Regions from separate parts of the Homo sapiens genome. Here region 2 is linked to region 1. Evidence: promoter capture Hi-C in 16 types of primary human blood cells and fetal thymus (Javierre and others, 2016). All regions are on one chromosome and are shown on one strand. Each heading gives the region's core, a stretch centred on a gene start or on the middle of the fragment in contact. The rest is flanking DNA. Distances are from core to core; before and after follow the strand shown.

Region 1 (7,064 bases), core at 2,134-4,633:
TTTCCTAATGAGAGAAGGAAACAAGCTGGGTTGACTTGGCTACCTTTCACTTTAACCAGCCTAAGGGAGTAACTCCTAGGTTCTCTCTTTCTGTTAGTTTAGAAGAAAAAATTACTCAACATATTTAGTACATTTAAGATAATGAATCATTTAGGCCTATCACTACCTCAGCCAACAGGTAGTGATAGGAAGGACAGCATAGTAACTGCAAGAAAACAAAATGTGTAATCTCTCTATCTTTCCTACAGATTTAGAACAAAGCCAAATGACTATGGCAACATTTAGAAATAAAGTGGTAGTAATAAGGAAAATAAATTAAGAATTTAGTCATACTTACCAAAATGTAAATTTTAAACATAATTTATACATATTCAAATGTAGCACTGGTATTTTGTAAACCTACTAAAATCATAATTTTAAATAAAGTGGCAAAATTATACCAACTACTACTACTCTTGGGAAGAGTGGTGTCAATTCCGGTCATCTTCTTAATCTAAAATTAAAATTCTGAGGGTCTACTAATCAGAAGAGGTTTCAGATATCAAATCATTGAAAATGTAAATCCAACTTCCAACAAAACTAACCTTAAAAAAGGCAAACCACTTGTAGTCATTCAACACAATCTCAAAGCCTTGGTTGTAAATGATGGTGAAATGGCCAGAATTGCCAAGGTCATCATATGCTGTATCCAGCTTCTGAAGGTACACCACTACTTTTTTTTCTTGTGGTCCTAAAGAAAAAAAAAAAAAGCACAATAAAGGAAAATTATTTGGATTTCAATAGGGGAAAGAATCCCCCAATTTCAATTTTAATTGTGCTGCTTTCCTTTCATGCTACCCAGTTTGAGCACAGTCTGCCTAGTGAAGAAACCAGAGGCTCCATCTTGTTGCCTCAAACAGTTCCTGCTCCGAGGCAAGACTGTGAAGTTAGGCTCTAAAAATTTGAGATAATGCAAGCAGAAGCAGTGGCTCACGCCTGTAATCCTAGCACTTTGCGGGGCTGAGGTCAGAACTTCAAGACTAGTTTGGGCAACATAGTGAGACCCTGTCTCTACAAAAATAATTTTTAAAAATTCGCTGGTTATGGTGGTGCATTGCCTGTAGTCCCAGCTATTTGAGCGGCTGAAGCTGAGGTGGAAGGATTGCTTGAGCCCAGGAGTTGGAGGCTGCAGTGAGCTATGATTGCACAACTGCATTCCAACCTGGGCAACACAGTGAGACCTTGTCTCAAAAAAGAGAGATATGCTATGCAGCCCAGCAGGCAGGGAGACCCCCAAAACTACAGTACCTTTCCAGAGCATCCCAACACTGAAGAAATTTTTCCACTGAACAAAAGGAGAAATGGGGAATGTTGAAAATTACAGGCTTCCAGAAACGGAGAAAAGGCAAAATGCTAGTCAAAAGTGGGAAATGCAAGAATAAAAGGTATGACAACAAAAAGATAAATAAACAGACTATCAGATCCTAAGGAAGACAATGTGCTAAGCCCAGGAGAAGACACAAAATGATCTATTCGGAGAAGAAATGGGGTACCTTTCTCCTCAAAGGCTCTACAGTTTAGAACCTCATAATCTGAATCCTTCCAAAGTTTATTCAGCAAACTAGAGGTCTGTATCCTATAAAACCAATTAGTGCTGATAGGAATGATACGTTTAACCTTCATAGATGAGGGCTCAGACCTGTGGGTGCCTTTAATTACTGAATTAAGGCCAAAGGTAATTTTATAGGCAGAGCCTTCCTGAAAATGATTCAGCTGTGTCCATCTGGAGAGTTGTGTATTTTAAAGTTTTTCCATGTTTGAGAGTAATGCTCTGACATGGGAGATTGCATGTGACAGGGCAGTGCAAATCCTGATCTCTTTCTGCCCCAACCTTCAAACTCAAATTTAAAAAAAAAAAAAAAAAAAAGGCCAGGCGTGGTGACTCCCGCCTGTAATCCCAGTACTTTGGGAGGCCGAGGCGGGCGGATCACGAGGTCAGGAGATGGAGACCATCCTGGCTAACACAGTGAAACCCGTCTCTACTAAAAATACAAAATATTAGCCGGGCGTGGTGGCATGTGCCCGTAATCCTAGCTACTCGGGAGACTGAGGCAGGAGAATCGCTTAAACCCGGGAGGCGGAGGTTGCAGTGAGCCGAGATCCCGCCACTGAACTACAGCCTGGGTGACAGAGCAAGACTCCATTCTCAAAAAAAAAAAAAAAAAAGTTACAATGTTCAGGATTATGAAATGCTATACAGTCAGTTAAAAAGGTATTTCTTTAGTAACAAATGACTTAATCTTTGTTCTGTTGACAAGAAAATTATAGCTGATTTTTTACTGACTCTGCAGAAGTCACAGGCTGTAAGAGGGTTTGGGTAGACCACAGTGTGACTCTTCTAACTAGTGATTGTCTTTTTTCCACCCCACCCCCTTCACTAGGTTCTTTGTTCTAGGGGTAACCATGTTATCTGAAGGCATATGGAATATCTCCAGTATGTTCAAACACTAGGTATTTATTGAGAGCCTTCCATGAGCCAAACATTGTGCAGACTCTGGGCATTTCTAATTACTAGGTTCAGAGTTAAGTTTTCTTTGTTATTAATTTTTTAAAAAATTTTTACCTCCTTGCAATGCATGAAACAATGCAGAGTGGTACTAGCCGTTTTCTAGTACTCATCAACACCCGCTCAAACCAAAATCGCTGGGCAGAAAGTCCCTTTCCCACCATCTAACAAAAAGAGAAAACTTCATGCTATATCCTCGAGAGTCTCTGAGCTCATCTATCTTCACTAGTAAAATAGTAATAAAAAATAAAAATAAATTTTAAAAATAACGCTACCAGATCGGACTGGAGAACCAAACGATTGCAGTTCCCAAGTCTCTCTCAAAGCAAACAAAATTAAGCGGGAGGAATAAAAAAGTTCTTGATCAAAGTGTTGAGTCCCCAAGATAACCAAGAAAGTGTGGAGTTAGAAGTTCTCAGCAGATGAACTTTAACTTCGCGAGCCTGGCGGGGAAGAAGGTCCCCAAGGGTCCCCGAATCCAGTCAAGATGCTCTGGCCACCCACAAGCGTCTGCCTGGGGGGAAGCGGTAGTTGGCGTGGCGCTGCGTTAGGGGCTCAAGGGCAGAAAGGACGACCCGGAGGACTGCCGAGCCGGCGGCTTACCCATAACCGAGCAGTTGACATCGCGCTGGGAACCGCTGGAGCCCACCTGGAAGACCCAGGTGCCCAGCAGGTCAAGATAGGTGCAGTTGGCAGGTGTGTCGCAGCGCACGGCGCCGTCGCCGGAGAGAAGCAGCAGGAGGGCGGCGAGCAGCAAGGAGGGCCCAGCACCCATGCTGCAGGGAGCTGAGAAAAGAGGTGAAGAATTACCAGGAAGCCGAGCGCTGCGGGCTAGCGGTGAGTCCACCACGAGGCGCGCGCCTTGAAATAGCTACGCCGGCCCGGAAACCCGTGGGCGGGGTCACTGAGCAGCAGGGGATTGGGGGTTGGGCGCCAGGCGCGTGCGCGTCTCTGAAACGGGGACTTGGGAGCGCGCGCTGCCCCTCACTTGGCTGCAACTGGACCCAGAACTAGGGAAGAGGCCAGGGACAGATTTTTTTTTTTTATTTTTATTTTTTTTGCCGAGGGACGTTTCAAAATTTTGCACGGCCAGGGTGACAAAAAGAGGATTTAAGAGCCACAAGCGGTCCGCACATGACCCAGACTTCGTTCCTGTGCGGTAACGTAGGGAGAGAAGGAAAGGGTGTGGGGGGAATAAGGGAGTGGGTCAGGTGAAAGAGCGCGACAGAGGGAGAGATCTAGCAAGTGGAGTTCTGTTTTACTTGCTATTCTTCCCCTTTAGTCTTTTTTCTCAGGTCCACTTGCCTCATAACCAACTTCTTGTTTTTTCCTCTGAAAAACTTCGCTAGCTAACATCAACTATTCCAGCTGTTTGAGAACTTATCTTCCTTCCGTTTTCCAACTCTTCCTACTTTTTTATGTGCTTGATTTTGTTTTGTTTCCTGGTAAATGCTGTTTGCCTGTTTGCATTCAGCAGAATTCAGTTTTTGTGCAAACCTGCAGTTTTGATGTATTAGCGTTGTGGGGGTTTTCCCTCTGGCACGCACACACATGGCGCTCTCAGAGATGATATTGCTCAACCCCTTTTATGTTACAGAGGAAAAGCAAGAGGCCCAGAGAGAGGAAGCGGCTTGCCCAGGGTGAGAAGGGTGAGGAAGGAAGCTAGCCAATGGGAGAAGGCTGGTCTTATGAACCGTTCTAGTGTGTCAGTCTGATCGCCAAAAATTATTAGGTGGCACTATTTCCAGGTGCCTCCTTGCTCAGTTTAAGTATCACCCTTTTCCGTAAGAGCCTCCCGTTCTTTCCTGGCTTTTGTTGGTAATTGGGGCTCCTTTCTCCCACTGAGCCTACTAGGTGTCAGGCCCTGTGGACACAGTGATGAACAAGACAGACCTGATGTGTCCCCGTTTTCTTTGGGATATGAATTTTTGCCCCCTTTGCACTGGTCACAAATCAATATTCATATGTCCATTTTTTTTCCACCAGATTATAAACATTCAAAGAGAGCAGGTCCAAATTATTCACTTATATCTCCCTAGATTCTGGTTTATTCAGAAAGTGTCCTTGAGTGTTAAAATAAGTGTACTTAATATTCTTATCTTGGTTGCCAAGCTTGAAAGCCAGTTTCAATGAGGCAAAAGGAGTTGTCCTTGAAAGTTCAGAGGTGAAAATACTCTTCAATGGGGGCACAAATTTCCAAAGCCTGGGGCGGGGTTGGTGGCGGGGGGTTGGGGAACACCTTGCTTTTAGGTTTTATATACCTTCTTAGAATTGAAAGCTGACATTGTATAATTAAGCTAACACACTATTTATTTAAAGATACCCTGACAGATTAAGCTTCCCTTCCTGAATCTCTAGGAAGGTGTGTTACTGATTGTTAAAACATTAAATTTGTATTAGGTCATCAATATTGAAGAGCCAGTTTAGGTGGAAATTTCTTTGATGAATGTAATCAAAGCAACACACTTAATTGTAAAGAAAGTTTAAAACAGTCTTTATTCAATGATTGAATAATAGAAAAAGATCTTGTGGACCTCTTAGTCTAATGGATTCATTTTAAAATTGGGAAATGGAGATTCAGAGAGTTAAATCACTTGCTGAATGTCATATTGCCACTTAGTAAGATTTAAGAATGAACCTCAGGCACATTGATTTTCAGTTTAGTTTATTTCTACTAATCTAATAATTCCCATACTGTTCTCTCTCAAAAATAACTACTAACTCTCCATTCCACGCACACACAAAAAATTGATTCTCAAACTGATCAGACCCCAAATCCTTTACTTTCTGAAATGAAATTAATATATAAACTGCTTACACACTTAATAAAAAGAAATGTAATGCCAAATGTAATATAAAGAAGAAATCAGATATTTTAAATATATTTCTAGTATAATAAGTTATATCCCATCATGTAAAATGTTCAAGTATGACTGTGTTGGAAAACATAATGAGGCACTCAGATACTTGCTCTTCACACTTCTGTAACCACCCAATGGATTCACCTGGCCTGCTGCCTAGACAGAGCCAATTTATCAAGACAGGGGAATTGCAATGGAGGAAGAGTAATTCATACAGAGCCGGCTGTGGGGGAGACGGGAGTTTTATTATCACTCAAATCAGTCTCCCCGAGCATTCAGGGATCAGAGTTTTCAAAGATAATTTGGTGGGTAGGGGCTTGGGAAGTGGGGAGTGCTGATTGGTTAGGTTGGAGATGGAATCATAGGGGGTCTAAGTGAGTTTTTCTTGCTATCTTCTGTTCCTGGGTGGGATGGCAGATATGGTTGAGCCAGATTGCTGGTCTCAGTGGTGTCAGCTGATCTATGGAGTGCAGGGTCTGTAAAATATCTCAAGCACTGATCTTAGATTTTACAATAGAGATGTTATCCCCAGAAGCAACTTGGAGGGTGGGAGGGTGCAGACTCTTGGAGCCAGAGGCCACATGACCCCTAAACTGTAATTTCTAATCTTGTAGCTAATTTGTTAGTCCTGCGAAGGCAGACTGGTCCCCAGGCAAGAAGGGAGTCTTTTTGGGAAAGGGCTATTATCAATTTTGTTTCAGAGTCAAACCATGAACTGAATTACTTCCCAAAGTTTGTTCCACCTATGCCCAGGAATGAAAAAGGACAGCTTAAAGATTAGAAGCAAGATGGAGTCGATTAGGTCTGATTTCTTTCACAGTTGTAATTTTTGCAAAGGTGGTTTCACTTCTATGTAAAATTGTAGAATCGTGGTAAATGTGATAGGAACTTTTTTCTGAGAGCACAAATGATTTCTGATGAGTTATAACTCAAATACCTTATCAATTAATCACTCAAACACCATACCAAAGTTGTTGATGTTGGACAATTCTTGGTCAAATTCCCAGGAGAACAAAGTAGAATTTTCTGTTGAAGGTTTATCAAGAGGTTGCATTCCCAAAAATTCAGTATATGTTAAAATTATATAAAACAAAAGTGAGCTTATGTGCAAAACATGGTCTGTCAGTAGGCTCCCATCATTAAAAGCAGGTTTACAGAGAGGCAGCATTACTTGGCAGTGGTTCTCAAAGTGTAGCCTAGGACCAGGGACATCAGCATCTGTCTTAGTCTGTTTTCTGTTGCTAGAACTGTACCTGAGACTCGGTAATTTAAAACAAAGAAAATTATTTTTTATAGTTCTAGAGACAGGTAAGTCCAAGGTCAAGAGGCCCCATCGAAGGGGGCCCTTCTTGCTGGTTGAGACTCTTTGCAGAATCCCAAGGTAGTACAGGGTATCACGTGGCAAAGGGGGTCATGAGAGATGGCCAAACTAGTGCTTATTACAGACCCACCCTCATGATAACTAATCCTTGATAATTCCATAATCCATTAATCTATTAACCCATGATAGATTCATCCATTCATGAGGGCACTGCCAATCACTTCTCAAAGGTCCCACCTCTCGACACATGACTTTTGGGGGACAACCTATGTTCAAACCACAGCATTCTGTCCCTGACCCCCAGAATTCATGGCCTTCTCACAATTCAAAATACAGT
Region 2 (7,064 bases), core at 3,040-5,539, 1.3 Mb before region 1:
CTTAACAAAATCTCATTTCATTTTCCTTTCCTGGTTACATGGAAAGACTACGTTTTCCATCCTCCTTTGTGGTTAGGTTGGGGACATGTGACTAAGTTCTGGAAGTGGGATGTAAGCAGAAGTGATGTAAACCACTTCCAGGTCTGGCCCTTAAAAGTGAAAGCAGTGATTGGTATCTGCGAAAGTTAAATGTATGCTGGCCCCATGACGTAGCACATCTACTCTTAGGTATATGCTCAAGAAAAACAAAAGCATACGTCTACAAAAGTCAAGTAAAAGAATGTCCCTTGCTGGGTAATTCATAGTAGGTTCAAACATGCAACAACACAAATGTCCTCAAATGAAAAAATTGTGCTATATTCATACAATAGACCCAATATAGCAATAAAAATGAATGAACTATAGCTACATACGACAACATGCATAAGATCTTGAGTGAAGGAAGCCAGACACAAAAAATATTCAACGTATGCATTTGTTACTATAAGCTTTAGGAACAGGCAAAATGAAGCTATGATGCTAGAAGTGAGAATAGTGGTTACCTCTGTTTGCAGGTGTATTTACTGGGAAGGGGCACTAAAGAGCCTTCTGGGGTGATGGAAATACTTTTTTTTAATCTGCATAGCAGTCTCAGGGCAAATAGTAGTCTCAGTAAAGGCAAATTTAAAAATTCATCAAGCTGTACACTTAAATTTTGTGCATGCTGCTATGCAAAAGAACTAAAAATTATGCACACATGAAAAATCAAAGAAGCAAGGAAAAAATTAAAAAAAGTGACCACTGACGAAGGCCCAGTGCAGATGGAAGAGGCTATATTCCTGAATCACTGGTTGCCCTTGCCCTGAAGAACTGGCCAGTCTGCTTTGGAGTTTGTGTAAACACAAAATAAATCTTTCTTATTTTAAATTCTCTGAGATTTAGAGTGTATGTGGTATCTCGGCATAGCCTAACCATTCTTGGCTAATACAGAATTTATTGCCACAAACAACCAGGGTAAAAAACCTGGCTTTGGAAGCATATCAGGGAGGCTCTTCCTTTCTCAGGCTAAGTGATATAAAACAAGCTTATAAATGAGTGCATAAATCAAGCTGCCAATTTATTAAATAACAATAGAAAATTAAAACCTGTCATACAAACTAGGATATCTGTTACCTAATATATAACCATTCTGTCTCTCAAGACAGACCTGCATGGGAAGCCAAACTGTAATAAAAGTTTGTTTTATTCTCAGAAAGAAAACATTAGTTAGATGAGTCAGTTATTTAATGACATCTGTCCAGGAGAAGCTATGCATCCCATTTCATAGTTAATTCCTGAGGTCCCTGGGCTGCAGTTCTCATTCCCAGGCATGCACCTGAATTGCCTCAGGGGGCTCCTCGTTTTTTTTTCTTCCAATTCTATCAATACACTTGTCTTCTACAGATATGTTATTGCATAAGTCTACTGTTTTTAGAGAGATGTGGCTGGCCTCTAAAGCATTCCTTGTACACATCTACATGTTGATTTTGTGTTTTTCCTCTCAAAGAATAATCATAAATCTTTTACTTTTTTATTATTTATTTATTTATTTATTTATTTATTTGAGATGGAGTCTTGCTCTGTTGTCCAGGCTGGAGTGCAGTGGCACCATCTCGGCTCACTGCAAGCTCCGCTTCCTGGGTTCACGCCATTCTCCTGCCTCAGCCTCCCAAGTAGCTGGGACTACAGGCGCCTGCCACCATGCCCGGCTAATTTGTTTTGTATTTTTAGTAGAGACAGGGTTTCACTGTGTTAGCCAGGATGGTCTCGATCTCCCGACCTCGTGATCCTCCCACCTCAGCCTCCAAAAGTATCTTTTACTTTTACATTCTGTGGTTGGAGTGGTAGGGGTTTGGAGAGAATGGTGTCCTTAGCTGTAGCTTCCAAGTACTGGTAACATCAAACTAATATAGATGCTGAGAATTCTAGACAGTGTATGTACCTGAATATTTTGTAAGGCCACTTGAGAGTTTTTTCTACAATCTTTGAAGGCTTGAAGGGAGGAAACTGTTAGGAAAGGCTGGAGAAAAAGGGATCCCTGTTATGCAGTGGCAGAAAGTTTGGCAACACTGTTGCATGCTGAAATGCAGAAAATAGAAAATATATCTAACAAACTGGTGTATTTGCAGTTAAGGAAATTTCCAGACAGACTGTTGAAAATGCCAACTGATTAAAAAAAAAAAACCTATGTGGAATAAGATGTAGAGAGGTGAGATATAAAAGGAACAATTTCATTTTTAAGCAAAATTTAGAGAAAATATACACAGTCTGGGAACTTTGGGTTCAAAAATAAAACTGCTTTTCACTTCCAGCCTCTCCAGATGGTGAAACAACTAAGGCATTGCCTTAAGGGGAAGGTACAATCCAGGGTGCAGCTATTTAGATTTTTTGTAAAGACTGTACAAAGATTTAAAGCCATTTTACCTAGACCATTTCAGCTAGACAAAAGCACTTCTAAGTGTATAAGGGTGTTTTCCATCAGCTTTCTTACTCTCAGCCCAAGACGGAAAGTGTTTGTCTCAGAGGTTTGTGAGTGTGGCTTTTTTTTCTATTGGAGTGGATTATAATTTGATATATATGAAGTCCCCAAAATCTTAAAGAGAATTGTATTGGCAGACACACTGCCTACTTGGACTGAAAGGGCATATGTATCTTTTAATACTCCAGATTTGAATATTAAAATTTATATTTACATATTAGAAACTCAATATTTTAAATAAAATGACGTAAGGAAAAACCTGAAGTTATGTTGCAACAAAAATTAGTAGAAAATTAGAATTATGGCTGGGCATGGTGGCTCATGTCTGTAATCCCAGCACTTTGGGAGGCTGAGGCAGGTGAATTACCTAAGGTCAGGGAGTTTGGGACCAGCCTGGACTACATGGTGAAACCCCGTCTCTACTAAAAATACAGAAATTAGCCGGGTGTGGTGGTGGGTGCCACTAATCTCAGCTAGTGAGGCAGAAGAATCACTTGAGCCCAGGAGGCGGAGTTTGCAGTGAGCCGAGATCGTCCCATTGCACTCCAGCTTGGGTGACACAGCAAGACTCCGTCTCAAAAGAAAAGAAAAGAAAAGAAAATCAGAATCATATGTAGCTTTGTGAAAAGCTTGGTTACTGACTGTTGCTGGAATCAAGAGCTACTACAGTGTCATACTTCGAGTTTGCCGTACTTTGCCATTGTACTTGTGCCTGATAATTATTTCTACAATGACTGCATGTAGATCTAAACTAGATTAGTGTCGTTAAATCCTCTGCATTAGATCTTAAGAGCTCTTCCATTCTTTTTCGTTGACATCTTCAAAACTAGAATCCTACAAGAGCAACAACTTTGTGTTTTTTTTTTTTTTTTCATTCTTCCATCACAAAGAAAGGGGCAACAATTTTCATCTTGGCGTTTCTTCAAAGCCTTTGAATTCCATCATAAATTGCCAGATTAGTTTTCTTCATCCACTGTGCACCTTCTTTGGAGAAACTCTTTGCTTCACCTTGTTGATGAACCCTAAAGCCCTCCCTGCGTTTTTTTAATGAAAAAGAAGAAACAATGAAGCCCCCAGAAAGTATCCAATCAAGCCACTGTCATAGCCAACCTAAAAGAATAAATGACCCATGCAGATGCAATGTTTAACATTATCTTTAAACTTAATGGTGGCATGAAGAGAAGGCTTTCTTTTAAAAAACAGCCTGCTATATCTTATAATACCATATAAAGAAATTTACAAATGTAAGCTACTGGTTTAACTGCATACTGCTCCATTTTGCAATTTTTTTTGCATCCTAAAGCACAGATCATCTCCCCTGAGGATTTATCAATGCCTTCCTGTTTTGGAATCTCCATAGCAGCACTAGAAAAGATAGAGTATCCTTTCTTTTGAACTTGGGAGTTTCCCTGAAATCACCCCTTTGCCACCCAGCTCATCAGCATTGTCCCCTTTGGCACCATCCCCTTTTTCTCAAATTTCTTTATGCTTCAAGTCTCCATTTAACAGTTAATTAGGACCAGGTGTGTTGGTGCACACCTGTAATCCCAGCAGTTTGGGAGGCTGAGGTGGGTGGACAGCTTGAGCCCAGGAGTTCAAGAGCAGTCTGGGTAACACAGGGAGACCCTACAAATAATTTAAAAACATTAGCCAGGTGTGGTGGCGTACCTGTGGTCCCAGCTACTCAGGAGGCTGAGGCAGGAGGATCTCCTGAGCCCAGGGGATATAGGCTGCTGTGAGCTGTGATTGCGCCACTGCACTTCAGCCTGGGTAGCAGAGTGAGACCATGTCTCAAAACAAACAAAAAACAGTTAACTAAAAGAAACCACCTGGTTTTAATTGTAATTTTAAAATTTCCTTATTTATTAATGTGTAATTGCTGGGCCACATAGTAAACATATTGTTTATTATCAGGCATGAAAACTATATTGTGCTATTACATTCAGAAGCAACTGAGAGTTAACAATCATATTAAAAATTTTTTTTTTTTTGAGACGGAGTCTTGTTCTGTTGCCCAGGCTGGAGTGTAGTGGCACCATCTCGGCTCACTGCAACCTCCGCCTCCCAGGTTCAAGTGATTCTCCTGCCTCAGCCTCCTGAGTAGCTGGGATTACAGGTGTCCACCACCATGTCTGGCTACTTTTTGTATTTTTAGTAGAGATGGAGTTTCACCATAGGCCAGGCTGGTCTTGAACTTATGACCTCAGGTGATCCACCAAGCTCAGCCTCCCAAAGTGTTGGGATTATAGGTATCAGCCACCGTGCCCAGCTCGTATTAATTGTTTGGTGAATAAGATGTTATTTGTATAGTATTGTACATCTTAACATGATCATTTTTTGTTAATATTTGATACTATGTTTTAAATACTTGTTAAGAATTTTTTGGTTGATATGTAATGCATTTTATTTTTTCCCATTTAAAACTAAGTTCCTATTCAGCATTTTCTTGTGAAAGGATCACAGATATTCAGGAATGGATTATTGAAAAAAAATAAGCCTGCACTGCTATTTCTGTAATTTTTTGGATAAGTTTATGCTGTGTTTTTGATCTTCTTAGTTTCTGAATTGGAGATTTGAAAAAAATTGTGATTATCTTGTTCCTATTCTACCATTGTATATTGGATGTGTTGAGGCGGATGATAACTTTATCATGAGATCTGCATCTGGTCCTGAGGAATATTCTGGACTTTGGCTAGGATTCAGCAACTGCATGGAATTTTAGGTTGTCTCCCTTGGAAAAGGGAAGGTATGTCTATCTGTAGAAAGAATGGTGTGCCCGGATATTTGGGTAGCCAGAGACATAGAACTATGGCAGACACTGCTAGTTGCCTCTAATATCTGTTTTTTCCATTTTGCTCAGTAATAAAACCTCAAATGTTAGCTGGGCATTTGTCCCATTAATTAAAAAAGATTGTATTCACCATCCTCTCTTGCAATGAAGTGTGGCCATGTGATTAAGCTTTGTCCAAGGAACGTAAGTTGTAGTAGTTTGTATGGATCTTCTGGGAAGTTTTTTTAAAAACAGGAAGTATGCCCTTTTCTCCCCGCCCCCGCCCCCCCGTTTTTTTTTTTTTTTTTTTTTTGAGATAGAGTCTCTCTCTGTTGCCAAGGCAACAGTGGTGTGATCTTGGCCCACTGCAACCTCTGCCTCCTGAGTTCAAGCGATTCTCCTGCCTCAGTCCCTGAGTAGCTACGATTACAGGAGCGTGTCACCATTTCTGGCAAATTTTTGTATTTTTAGTAGAGACAGGGTTTCACCATGTTGGCCAGGCTGGTCTCAAACTCCTGACCTCAAGTGATCCACCCGCCTCAGCCTCTCAAAGTACTAGGATTACAGGTGTGAGCCACCGCGCCCGGCCTCTCTTCCCCTTTTGCTGGTCTTCCTGGCTAGCATGTTGATGTCATGTTATTTTCTAAGTTAGGGTGGAAATCACAGGTAGCAGATGGCATAGCAAACTGTCACAAAGAGGCTGGGATCCCTAATCGTTATGGAGCCACCATTTTATTCTAGGACTGCCTACCTTTACCTGAGAGAAAGATACTTTTATCTTTTTGCCATTGTTGTTTTGGACTTTTCATCTGAGTATTTCTCTTTTATTTTCTTCAAACAACTACACCTATCTGATATTATCTTGTTCAGTTTTCTTTGTTATTTTCTGTCTTCTCCCTCTAGAATACTAGCTTCGTGAAAATAAAAATCTTGTCTCTCTTGTTTCTGTTTGTTTCCTTAGCACAGTGCCTGGTAAATAGTAATGACTCAGTAAATATTTGTAGATGAATGAATGAAGACTAGAAGATTCGAATGGAATTCTTCTAAAGGTAGTTCGTTTCTGCTTTAAGAGACTATGGAATTTAGAAATCCAAAGAAACTGGCAGGTTTGTTACATGTGAGGAGATTGACAGAGGGGTTATATGACTCAAGCAACACAGGACCCTTGTCTTGCTAATTGTTGGCCAAGTTCCCTAGCCAGGTCTGAGTTCTAACACACGACTGCCGCCTCTACTGTGTGTGCTGTTTGGTTGATAAGCACCTATCAAAGATGCTGTAGACAGGATTGCTCCGTGGCCTAAGGTTTGGACAGGATGACCTATTGCCCTTCCCCACACACGGTCGGGGTATGAACATAGCTGAGACTTTTCAAGCCTTCGCAGGTATCACAGAGCTTGGAAAGCCCAGCACTTGGGGGTAGTTAGTTGCAACTAGCAGGCAGCCCTAGCTGTTTATTACCTGGGACTCTCGGGAAGGCAAGCTCCCGGTGCTGGGGAGGACGTTTGTCCCAGGCATTCCTCTGGCAACCCTCTTCCTCCACCAGCTCCCAACAAAGACATTTAATCCCTTTCTTCCACTACCCTCCGCTCTACTTGGCTTGCAGTTGGAAGCTGAAGTACAATTTGACCCAAGCCACCCCCTACTGCGCACCTGCCATAGCGCTTGCGCCCCGGAGCCGGGCACGGCGTCGCGGGGGTGGGGAGGCGGCTCGTCCCCGAGCTGCGCTCCCTCGCGTACAGCCTCGGCTCTGGGTGCGAAGATCCTCTCTGCCTCCGCTCACCCAGCCGCGCCGCCGCG

Evidence for each region. The method cuts DNA at HindIII sites, captures the fragments that hold promoters and counts their contacts. A CHiCAGO score of 5 or more calls a contact.
Region 2: a contact is called between a fragment that was not itself captured here and the fragment with the promoter of CTSC in region 1, in 1 of 17 cell types (non-activated CD4 T cells). The highest score is 6.0, in non-activated CD4 T cells.

Annotation. Positions count from the first base shown.
Region 1 is chr11:88,334,353-88,341,416 of GRCh38, forward strand. It overlaps CTSC (cathepsin C), which reads right to left and starts at 3,384. Exons shown (of 7, transcript NM_001814.6): 1 at 3,149-3,384; 2 at 585-730. The coding sequence starts at 3,320. It overlaps LOC101929174 (a long non-coding RNA gene), which reads left to right and starts at 3,532. Exons shown (of 5, transcript NR_188511.1): 1 at 3,532-3,704. RefSeq lists an enhancer at 3,100-3,379. The HindIII fragment of the contact is 10,462 bases long and covers 1-4,655 here.
Region 2 is chr11:87,030,707-87,037,770 of GRCh38, forward strand. It overlaps LOC105369422 (a long non-coding RNA gene), which reads right to left. Exons shown (of 5, transcript XR_007062827.1): 1 at 6,918-7,064. Among named protein-coding and RNA genes, the nearest start is that of TMEM135, 3.7 kb to the right of the region's middle. RefSeq lists an enhancer at 6,703-7,064 and a silencer at 6,860-7,064. The HindIII fragment of the contact is 2,330 bases long and covers 3,125-5,454 here.